2 separate regions of the Homo sapiens genome follow, and region 1 is linked to region 2. Evidence: promoter capture Hi-C in 16 types of primary human blood cells and fetal thymus (Javierre and others, 2016). All regions are on one chromosome and are shown on one strand. The core of a region is centred on a gene start or on the middle of the fragment in contact, and the rest is flanking DNA. Distances in the headings are between cores, read along the strand shown. Region 1 has its middle 25 kb from the start of SLC4A3. Region 2 holds the start of DES (desmin).

What was found. Contacts are between HindIII fragments. The CHiCAGO score rates a contact against its expected background, and 5 or more counts as called.
Region 1: a fragment that was not itself captured here is called in contact with the fragment with the promoter of DES in region 2 in 1 of 17 cell types (M0 macrophages); the score reaches 5.3 in M0 macrophages.

What each region holds. Positions count from the first base shown.
Region 1 is chr2:219,650,228-219,655,635 of GRCh38, forward strand. No RefSeq gene overlaps it. Among named protein-coding and RNA genes, the nearest start is that of SLC4A3, 25 kb to the left of the region's middle. The HindIII fragment of the contact is 7,031 bases long and covers 1-5,125 here.
Region 2 is chr2:219,414,820-219,420,039 of GRCh38, forward strand. It overlaps DES (desmin), which reads left to right and starts at 3,558. Exons shown (of 9, transcript NM_001927.4): 1 at 3,558-4,221. The coding sequence starts at 3,644. RefSeq lists cis regulatory regions at 2,577-3,633, 2,650-2,656, enhancers at 2,577-2,852, 2,577-2,695, 2,696-2,852, a silencer at 2,853-3,328 and a promoter at 3,329-3,633. The HindIII fragment of the contact is 3,605 bases long and covers 2,853-5,220 here.

The DNA.
Region 1 (5,408 bases), core at 360-2,859, 230 kb after region 2:
CCACCCTCAAGGACATAAGACATAAAATATTTTCCTAACCAGTGAGTCTTCAGCAGTGCAGGGGGAGAGAACGGAAGTGGGAAAGGGAGAAAGGAAAGTAAGATTTTAGTGTCATTGGATTGTCTTGTTCCCAAGGTCAGGCTAGATGGTATATTCTGCACCATGCCAAATTGCTCATCTCACAGGAGACTGTAATTAAACACACGCTTACTGTGCGGGGGATCAGAATTGCTGAGGAGGGTATTTGGCAACTAAGAAAGCAGGTTAAATCGTGATGGCTTTGGGGTCTTAGCAGTCCCTCTCAGTAAGCCCTTCTAAGTTACATTCTACTGTTCTGTTTGCTGTTAATTATTCCTCAGATAATTTCCCCTGAGCAAGAATAAGGACATTCTGTGGTAGAGGCTGAGGTTTTTGTTTCCCAGGGGGTTTGCTGCTGAGAGCCAGTGGGAATGTGTATCAGTCAAAATTCTTATTTGCACCAAACAGAAGCCAGCTCCAGCTAATTTAAGCAGAAACAGGGCTGTTGAAAAGCCATTCACAGACACTGGGAAGGTAGGAGACTCCAACTCAGAACCATGGTCACAGACATGCCACAGAAAACATCCGGTGGCAATGTGGCTGTTGCTGTGGAACGTGAGATGCCACAGTTGCGCCCCTGGTGGGGGATATCACCCCTGGAACGGCCACCAGGAGGATTCTGCACTGCCCCTCTTCTCTGCATCCATCACTAATACCTGCATCCATCACAAGGTCTCAGGTGGATGTTCCTGACTGGCTTATGTCATGTGCCTGTGTCGAAGTTGCTAGAAGGCTGGGAAAGAGGCTTTTGGCATTTCAGCTTCTGTGGTGGGAGGCAGCTCTGGCTCTGACACTCAGTAGTGATGTGTTGGAGCTAGCTTACAAGAGCTGCTTGTAAAAATTTCAGGGACTTGTGAACTGGTTGTTAAACATAGTCATTATTAAAAAGTAAATTATAGTAGATATACTGTTTCTATTCCTCTTGCAAAGTATAAAAGAAATATAAGTCTCTGAATGGAGGCAAGAAGAAGGCAGACCAGCTAGGGACCTTGGGACCCAAGGAATAATACATTACTGAGTTCCTTGTATTTTCTTTTTGTGTCATATATCCCAGACTTGGAGCTGAAGAAGCTGGCAATGCAGAAATGCCAATAGGTGTAGGCAAAAAAGCCCCAACCAAAGTCTGCTCTCTCTAGTCAAAGGGGTAGGAAAGAAGAAACAGAGCAAGACAGAAAACTTTCAGACAGTAACAGCCAAATGCAGCAGAAAAATCTGTGATCTCCCCATCCCAACTCAGGCTAACAAAGGCTAAATTGGCAGCTTATACTTCCAACCTTGAGAAACTGTCAAGGCACCTCAGTACTCACGATGAAGTGATGTCATAGGAGACCAAGTAGAGCCTGGACTTCCAGCCCCATCTAGCAGTAATAAGGCACTCTTCCTCCTTCCCACTGTGTTGGGAGCAAGCCCCCCAAAATCTGGCCATAAACTGGTCCCAAAACTGGCCATAAATAAAATCTCTGCAGCACTGTAGCATGTCCATAATGGCCCTAACGCCCAAGCTGGAAGGTTCTGGGTTTACGTGAATGAGGGCAAGGAATACCTGGCCCGCCTAGGGCGGAAAACCGCTTAAAGGCATTCCTAAGCCACAAACAAAAGCATGAGCCATCTGTGTCTTAAGGTGTGTTCCTGCTGAAATTAATTCGGCCCATCCCTTCATTTCCCATAAGGGATACTTTTAGTTAATTTAATATCTATAGAAACCATGCTAATGACTGGTTTACTGTTAAGAAATATGTGGGTAAATCTCTGTTCGGGGCTCTCAGCTCTGAAGGCTGTGAGACCCCTGATTTCCCACTTCACACCTCTATATTTCTGTGTGTGTTTCTTTAATTCCTCTAGCGCCGCTAGGTTAGGGTCTCCCTGACCCAGCTGGTCTCGGCACCACTGGATGGTGTCAGAGGATGCCTAGTGGGGAGTCAGAACCTTTGTAATCATTCAGCAGTAAGAGACAGAGAGGGATACTATGTAATGATAAAATAGTCAATTCACCAAGAAGACATAGCAATCCTAAATGTACATGTACCAAACAACAGAGCTGCAAAATAGGAGAAGCAAAACCCAATTGAACTGAAAAGAGAAACAGACAAATCACAGTTGTAACTGGAGACTTCAACACCCCTCTCTCAACAATTGCTAGAACAATTGATAGCTAAAGTCAGCAAGGATATAGAAGAACTCAACATCAACTGAGAGGATTTAATTGACATTTATAGAACACTAAGACTAAACCATCAGAATACAAATTCTTTTTGCATGTTCATGGAACATATACCAAGATAGACCCTATTCTGGGCTATAAAACACATTGCAACAAACTTAAGAGAATTAAAATAATATAGAGTTTTCTGACCACAATGGAATTAAACTAGAATAACAGAAAAATAATAGGAAAATCTCCAAACACTTGGAAACTAAACCAACATATTTTAAGTAATTAATGAGTCAAAAGGGAAGACTCAAGGAAAATTTAAAAAATTATTGAACTAAATGAAAACTAAAATATAGCACATCAAAATTTGTGGGACACAGCCAAAGCAATGCTGAGAGGGAAATATATAGCATTAAATGTGTACATTAGAAAAGAGGAGAAGTTTCAAACTAATAATCTAAGCTCCCACCTGAAGAACCTAGAAAAGATAAGCAAACTAAACCCAAAGTGAACGGAAGGAAGGAAATAATAAAGATAAGAGTAGATATAAGCAAAATTGAAAACAGAAAAACAATAGAGAAAATCAATGAAACAAAGAATTTGTTCTTTGAAAAGGTCAATAAAATTGACAAATCTCTAGCAAGACTGACAAAAAGGAGGACACATATTACCAACATCAAGAATGAAACAGGCCGGGTGCAGTGGCTCACGCCTGTAATCCCAGCACTTTGGGAGGCCGAGGCAGGTGGATCACCTGAGGTCAGGAGTTTGAGACCAGCCTGGCCAACGTGGTGAAACCCCATCTCTACTAACAATACAAAAATTAGCTGGGCGTGGTAGTGCATGCCTGTAATCCCAGCTACTCGGGAGGCTGAGGCACGAGAATTCCTTGAACTTGGGACACAGAGGTTTCAGTGACAGAGTGAGACTCCGTCTCAAAAAAAAAAAAAAAAAAGAAATGGGATATCACTGAAGACCTTGCAGCAGACATCAAAGACTGATAAGTGAATACTATGAATAAGTTTGCACACATAAATTTAGCGACCTAGATGAAATAGACCATTTCTCAAAAAACCACAAATGACCACAACTCACTCTATATAAAAGAGCTAATTTGAAGCTGGGCACCATGGCTTGTGCCTGTAATCCCTGCTGCTCAGGAGGCTGAGATGGGAGGATCACTGCAGTCTAGGAAGTCTAGGAGTTTAAGGCTGCAGTGAGCTGTGATCAAGCCACTGCACTCTAGTCTGAGTGACAGAGTGAGACCCTGTCTCTTAAAAAAAAGAGACAATAGCCCTGTAATGAATAGCCTCTAATGAATAGCCCTGTAATGATTAACAAAGCTAATTTCTTAAATTAAAACTCCTCCTCACCTACCCCACCTCCAAATTTCCAGGCCAAGATGGTTTGACTGAAGAATGTTACTAAATATTTAAATAAGAATTGCTACCAATTTTACACAACCTCTTCCAGAAATAGAAGAGGAGGTAATACTTCCTAATGAACTTTATGAAGCTAGTATTCCTCTGATATCAAGACCAGACAAAAATAATCCCCAAAAAAGAAATCTAAAGACTAGCATCTCTCCTGAATATAGATGCAAGAAATCTTTAACAAAATATTAGCAAATATAATTCATCAATATAGAAAAAAATTATATATCATGATCATGTGGAATTTATTAGAGATGAAAAGCTGTTTCAGTATTTAAAAATCAATTATGGTAATCCACCATGTTAACAAGTTAAAAAAATCACATGATCCTATCAATTGACACAGAAAATGCATCTGACAAAATTCAACATCCATTTATGTTAATAACTCTTAGGAAAATAGAAGTGGAGGGGGGCTTCCTCAACTTGACAAAGGGTGTCTACACAAAATCTACAGCTAATATTGTACTTAATGGTGAGAGAGTGAATGCACTTCCCCTAAGATTGGGAACAAGGTAAGGATATCCTCTCTTACCACTCTTATTCAATCCAGTGCTGGAAGTTCTAGCTAGTGCAACACGCAAGAAAAAGAAACAAAAGACATACAGGTCAGAAAAAAAATTGTCCCTGTTTGCAGATAACATAACTGTCTACATAGAAAATCCTAAGACATCTATAAAAATGAAAACAAAACAAAAAAACTTTTGGAACAAGTGATTTAGTTCAACAAGAATCATAGGATACAAGATAAATATACAAAAATCCATTGCATTTCTATATATTAGCAGTAAACACATGTATACCAAAATTAACAGTACAATACCATATGCAGCCCACTCAAAAGTGAAATACTTTTTTATAAATCTAATAAAAATTTACAGAATCTACATGCTGAAAACTTCTGTATTAGTCTATTTTGTGTTGCTATAAAGAAATACCTGAAACTGGATAATTTATAAAGAAAAGAGGTTTGTTTGGCTCATGATGCTGCAGGCTGTGCAACAAGCATGTGCCAGCATCTGCTTCTGGTGAAGCCCTCAGGAACCTTACAATCATAGTGGAAGGGAAGGGAGGAGCAGGCGTGTCATAAGGTGATAGAGAAAGCAAGGGGGTGGGGAGGTGCCACACTGTTTAAAAACCAGATCTTGTGGTAACTAATAAAGTGAGAACTCACTCATTACCATGAGGATGGCACCAACCCATTCTTGAGGTATCCACCCCCAGGACCCAAACACCTCCCACTAATCCCCACCTCTAACGTTGAGGTGACATGAGATTTGAAGAGGACAAATATCCAAACTATATTAACTACTCAAGGTTGATGAAAGAAATCAATGAAGATCTAAATAAATGGAGAGACATACTACGTTCCTGGATTGGAAGATTCAGCATTGTAAAGTTGTCAATTTGTCCTAAACTAATATATATAGGTTTAATGCAATTTTTATTGAAATCTAAGCAAAGCTTTTTTGTAGATATAGACAAAATTATTTTAGAATTTATATGGAAAGGCATAGAAACCAGAATAGCTAAAATAATTTTGTAAAAGGAGAATAAAGTGGGATGAATCAGTTTACCTGATTTTAAGACTTATTATATAGTTACAGTAATCAAGACTGTGTGGTATTGGTGGAGGGATAGTTGCAAAGACTGATAGAACAGAATTTAAAAACCTAGAAATAGACCAACATAAATATACCCAACCAATTTTTGACAAAAGGTGCAAAAGTAATTCATTGAAGAAA
Region 2 (5,220 bases), core at 2,308-4,807:
TCACAATAACCAAAAGTTGGAAACAACCCAAATATTCATCAACAGATAAACAAAGTGTGGTGTATACATACAATGGAATATTATTTAGCCTTAAAAAGAAAGGAAATTCTGACCCATGTCACAACATGGATGAACCTTGAAGACGTTATGCTAAGGGAAGTAAGCCAGTCACAAAAGGACAAATATGGTATGATTCCACTTGCATGAAGTACCTAGAGTCAAATTCGTAGAAACGGAAAGTAGAATGATGTTTACCAGGGGCTGGGAGGAGGGGAAGGTGGAGGGTTATTTTTAATACATATGGAGTTTCAGCTTGGGACAATGAAAAAGTTCTGCAGATGGATGGTGGGGATAGTTGTACAACAATGTGAATGTACTTGACGCCACTGAACTGTATACTTAAAAAATGGCTCAAATGGTGAATTTTATTTTATGTATATTTTATCACAATGTAAAAGTGACTCAGCTGTCAATGTACTAAAATGGAACCATCTCTAAGCTGTATGTCATTGAAAAAAGATTGATTCAGAAGTGGGGGCTCCACATAAGAAAATGTGGTTGTGTGTACATGAAGTATCTCTGAAAGGAACCGATAACAACCAAAACCTGGTTGTCTCTGAAGCAGTGTTTGGGGTGGCTGGGTGTCAAAGTGGGAAGGAGACTTACTTTTCATTTTATGCCTTTTTGCACATCTTGAATTTTGTACCATATACACTACCCATCCAAATAAATTGTCGGTATTTTTAGTGTGTCCCATCCTGAGTGGTCCTCTCGGGAGGCTGAACTCTCCCTCCAGCGGTGCTGCCCAGCTCACAGCATGTTTTGGAGTGCTCCTCTTTCACCTGCCTTCCAAGCCTCGGGGTGTTGATTTGCAGCCCTCCATGGTAGCAAATCCTCAGGGGTGGAACTGAATTTTGAAAACAGTCCCAAGTGGTTCGGGGCCAAGTCTGGTGGTTGTTGATTTTGACTAGAGAATAGATGGCATGATTTATTTGTCTTCTGCCTCTTTTCACCAAGGAACTGAGGACTTGGGCTGGTCCAAAGGCCAATTTCCTTATGTGGTCTGGAGATCATTCACAGAGAAGAGCTCCAGAAATGTTGTCCCAGTAGCATCATAGAAATAGGTGTAGAGTCCCCTTCAGGAAGATTAATCTGGTTCTTTGGGCTGTAAGTGATCAAAGCAATACCAAGTGCCTTAAATTAAAAAAAAAAAAAAAAAAAAAAACGGAAAGTTTGTTGGCCCAAGGCCAGGAAGGACAGTGTGGGAGCTCAACTCACAAAGTTGAGGGAAGCACTGCAGGAACCAAGGGGCTGGCCTGCTCCTCCTCTCCAGCCTCCTCTGCTTCTTACATATTGACCTCTCTTTCTTCCTACTCCCCCAGGGGGCAGGAAACATGGCTTCCACAGGTTCCAGTTGAAGAATCCCAGTTCCGTCTATAAATTCCAGGGAAGGTCTCTGATTGGCCCTGCTCATTCCCAGGCCCATTCCTTGACCCAGTCACTGAAGTCAGGGAGATGCAGTAATAAGACTGGCTGGAATCAGGGTCTTTAGGGGTGGAGGGATGGGGAGGAGGCACAGCATGTCATCAAAATAAGGAAATTGCAAAAGAAAGCTTGCAGGCTACTTTGAATGACAATGAGAAAGACGGTGCTGCCTGAGTGTGTTAAGGATCCACATGGTCTCCAAAATCCTCCAGGAGCATACAGTCTAGTCTGGGAGATGAGACACAAAAATAACCAGAACACAACAGCTTGCACTGACTCGAGGGCTGGATAAGAATATCTGGAACTCCCCCATCTATTTCAGAAGCTTGTCTCTTGGATGAAAATTAGACACTTAATGGGAAAGGGCTTTGAAAAGAGTGCAGTAACAAAGCCCCCTTTACAATTTACCCGGCACATTCACACCCATCCTGAGGCCAAAGCCACAGGCTGTGAGGTCTCACTGTCTCAGCTTCCTGAGCTATAAAATGGGAATGATGCTAGTGTCTACCTCCTAGGGTTGGAGAATTGGGGGTCATGGGTGTGAAGTGCTCAGCAGCTTGGCCCACACTAGGTGGTCAGTACATGTAAGGTATTATTGTTGCTACATACATTAGTAGGGCCTGGGCCTCTTTAAACCTTTATAGGGTAGCATGGCAAGGCTAACCATCCTCACTTTATATCTGACAAGCTGGGGCTCAGAGAGGACGTGCCTGAGCTGGGGCTCAGACAAGGACACACCTACTAGTAACCCCTCCAGCTGGTGATGGCAGGTCTAGGGTAGGACCAGTGACTGGCTCCTAATCGAGCACTCTATTTTCAGGGTTTGCATTCCAAAAGGGTCAGGTCCAAGAGGGACCTGGAGTGCCAAGTGGAGGTGTAGAGGCACGGCCAGTACCCATGGAGAATGGTGGATGTCCTTAGGGGTTAGCAAGTGCCGTGTGCTAAGGAGGGGGCTTTGGAGGTTGGGCAGGCCCTCTGTGGGGCTCCATTTTTGTGGGGGTGGGGGCTGGAGCATTATAGGGGGTGGGAAGTGATTGGGGCTGTCACCCTAGCCTTCCTTATCTGACGCCCACCCATGCCTCCTCAGGTACCCCCTGCCCCCCACAGCTCCTCTCCTGTGCCTTGTTTCCCAGCCATGCGTTCTCCTCTATAAATACCCGCTCTGGTATTTGGGGTTGGCAGCTGTTGCTGCCAGGGAGATGGTTGGGTTGACATGCGGCTCCTGACAAAACACAAACCCCTGGTGTGTGTGGGCGTGGGTGGTGTGAGTAGGGGGATGAATCAGGGAGGGGGCGGGGGACCCAGGGGGCAGGAGCCACACAAAGTCTGTGCGGGGGTGGGAGCGCACATAGCAATTGGAAACTGAAAGCTTATCAGACCCTTTCTGGAAATCAGCCCACTGTTTATAAACTTGAGGCCCCACCCTCGACAGTACCGGGGAGGAAGAGGGCCTGCACTAGTCCAGAGGGAAACTGAGGCTCAGGGCTAGCTCGCCCATAGACATACATGGCAGGCAGGCTTTGGCCAGGATCCCTCCGCCTGCCAGGCGTCTCCCTGCCCTCCCTTCCTGCCTAGAGACCCCCACCCTCAAGCCTGGCTGGTCTTTGCCTGAGACCCAAACCTCTTCGACTTCAAGAGAATATTTAGGAACAAGGTGGTTTAGGGCCTTTCCTGGGAACAGGCCTTGACCCTTTAAGAAATGACCCAAAGTCTCTCCTTGACCAAAAAGGGGACCCTCAAACTAAAGGGAAGCCTCTCTTCTGCTGTCTCCCCTGACCCCACTCCCCCCCACCCCAGGACGAGGAGATAACCAGGGCTGAAAGAGGCCCGCCTGGGGGCTGCAGACATGCTTGCTGCCTGCCCTGGCGAAGGATTGGCAGGCTTGCCCGTCACAGGACCCCCGCTGGCTGACTCAGGGGCGCAGGCCTCTTGCGGGGGAGCTGGCCTCCCCGCCCCCACGGCCACGGGCCGCCCTTTCCTGGCAGGACAGCGGGATCTTGCAGCTGTCAGGGGAGGGGAGGCGGGGGCTGATGTCAGGAGGGATACAAATAGTGCCGACGGCTGGGGGCCCTGTCTCCCCTCGCCGCATCCACTCTCCGGCCGGCCGCCTGCCCGCCGCCTCCTCCGTGCGCCCGCCAGCCTCGCCCGCGCCGTCACCATGAGCCAGGCCTACTCGTCCAGCCAGCGCGTGTCCTCCTACCGCCGCACCTTCGGCGGGGCCCCGGGCTTCCCACTCGGCTCCCCGCTGAGTTCGCCCGTGTTCCCGCGGGCGGGTTTCGGCTCTAAGGGCTCCTCCAGCTCGGTGACGTCCCGCGTGTACCAGGTGTCGCGCACGTCGGGCGGGGCCGGGGGCCTGGGGTCGCTGCGGGCCAGCCGGCTGGGGACCACCCGCACGCCCTCCTCCTACGGCGCAGGCGAGCTGCTGGACTTCTCACTGGCCGACGCGGTGAACCAGGAGTTTCTGACCACGCGCACCAACGAGAAGGTGGAGCTGCAGGAGCTCAATGACCGCTTCGCCAACTACATCGAGAAGGTGCGCTTCCTGGAGCAGCAGAACGCGGCGCTCGCCGCCGAAGTGAACCGGCTCAAGGGCCGCGAGCCGACGCGAGTGGCCGAGCTCTACGAGGAGGAGCTGCGGGAGCTGCGGCGCCAGGTGGAGGTGCTCACTAACCAGCGCGCGCGCGTCGACGTCGAGCGCGACAACCTGCTCGACGACCTGCAGCGGCTCAAGGCCAAGTGAGGGCCCGGCACCCCAGACTCCTCTTTCTGCGGGCAGGGCACAGGAGGCTAGGCCTGGGGTCTGGGGTCCCGCTGTCAGCACCTGCCTTCTCCCGGGGCCCGGGACCCTCTCCTGCCCCATGTGGAGAAAGGGTCCTCCACCTGTGTGTTTCAAGGGGCCGTGACCTCCAGGTCTCTCCCCCTGCGATCCCATCTTGCACAGGAGTTTTCTTGGGGACATAGATCAGGGGGTGGATATGGGAGAATTTAGGGGACCCGGTGCCCTGTGGACAGCCCCGTTAAAAAGCATTTTAAGATGCTGGGGCGATATTTATGGGGTCAGGTAGTTGATGGGCAGAGGAAGGGCTGCAGGAGGCCCAGAGGGCAGTGTAGCCAGAGGGAGAAGGGAGGCTGATAGGAGACAGGGAAAGCAGGGCAAGGGCCCAGAGTCCAAGCAACAGCTCTCAGCTCAGCTGTGATGAGGCCCTGGGGGAGGTGGGGGGAGGGGGGAGCTTGGCCCTGGGGCCTTGCCGAGACTGTGTCTTTTTACAAGGTGAATGGACAGGCTGGAGAAAAAGGGAGTAGGTGGGGGTCACAGCTCTCAGAGAGCTTGGGAGGACCTGACTGTAGACTTCACCAGGCTCCAAGAACGAAAAGGGCAGCAAGTGTAGCATATTTGTTGGTCCCACTTCTGACAGGCCAAGTGAGCACAGTCACCCTCCTGCCACCAAAGTCATAAATATTAATTGAGCAGCTATATTGGCCAGGCTGGAGCTGGGAACCAGAAACACAGAGGTGGATAAAATAGACACAGTTTCTAACCCCAGGGAGGTCACACAGTCTGGTGGGGACATAGACTTCAAGGGTGTGGCTCCTGGGCAGAGATTGGGCCACTTCCTGTGCCCTCCCTGGGTGGGTGGGGCCTCTCCACTCCCTGTCTCTCCTGCCTCTACCCAGCAGCCAGGCCCTCCCGCTCTGTCCTGGACCCACCCCCTGGTCAGCCCCCGGCCAGTCGTT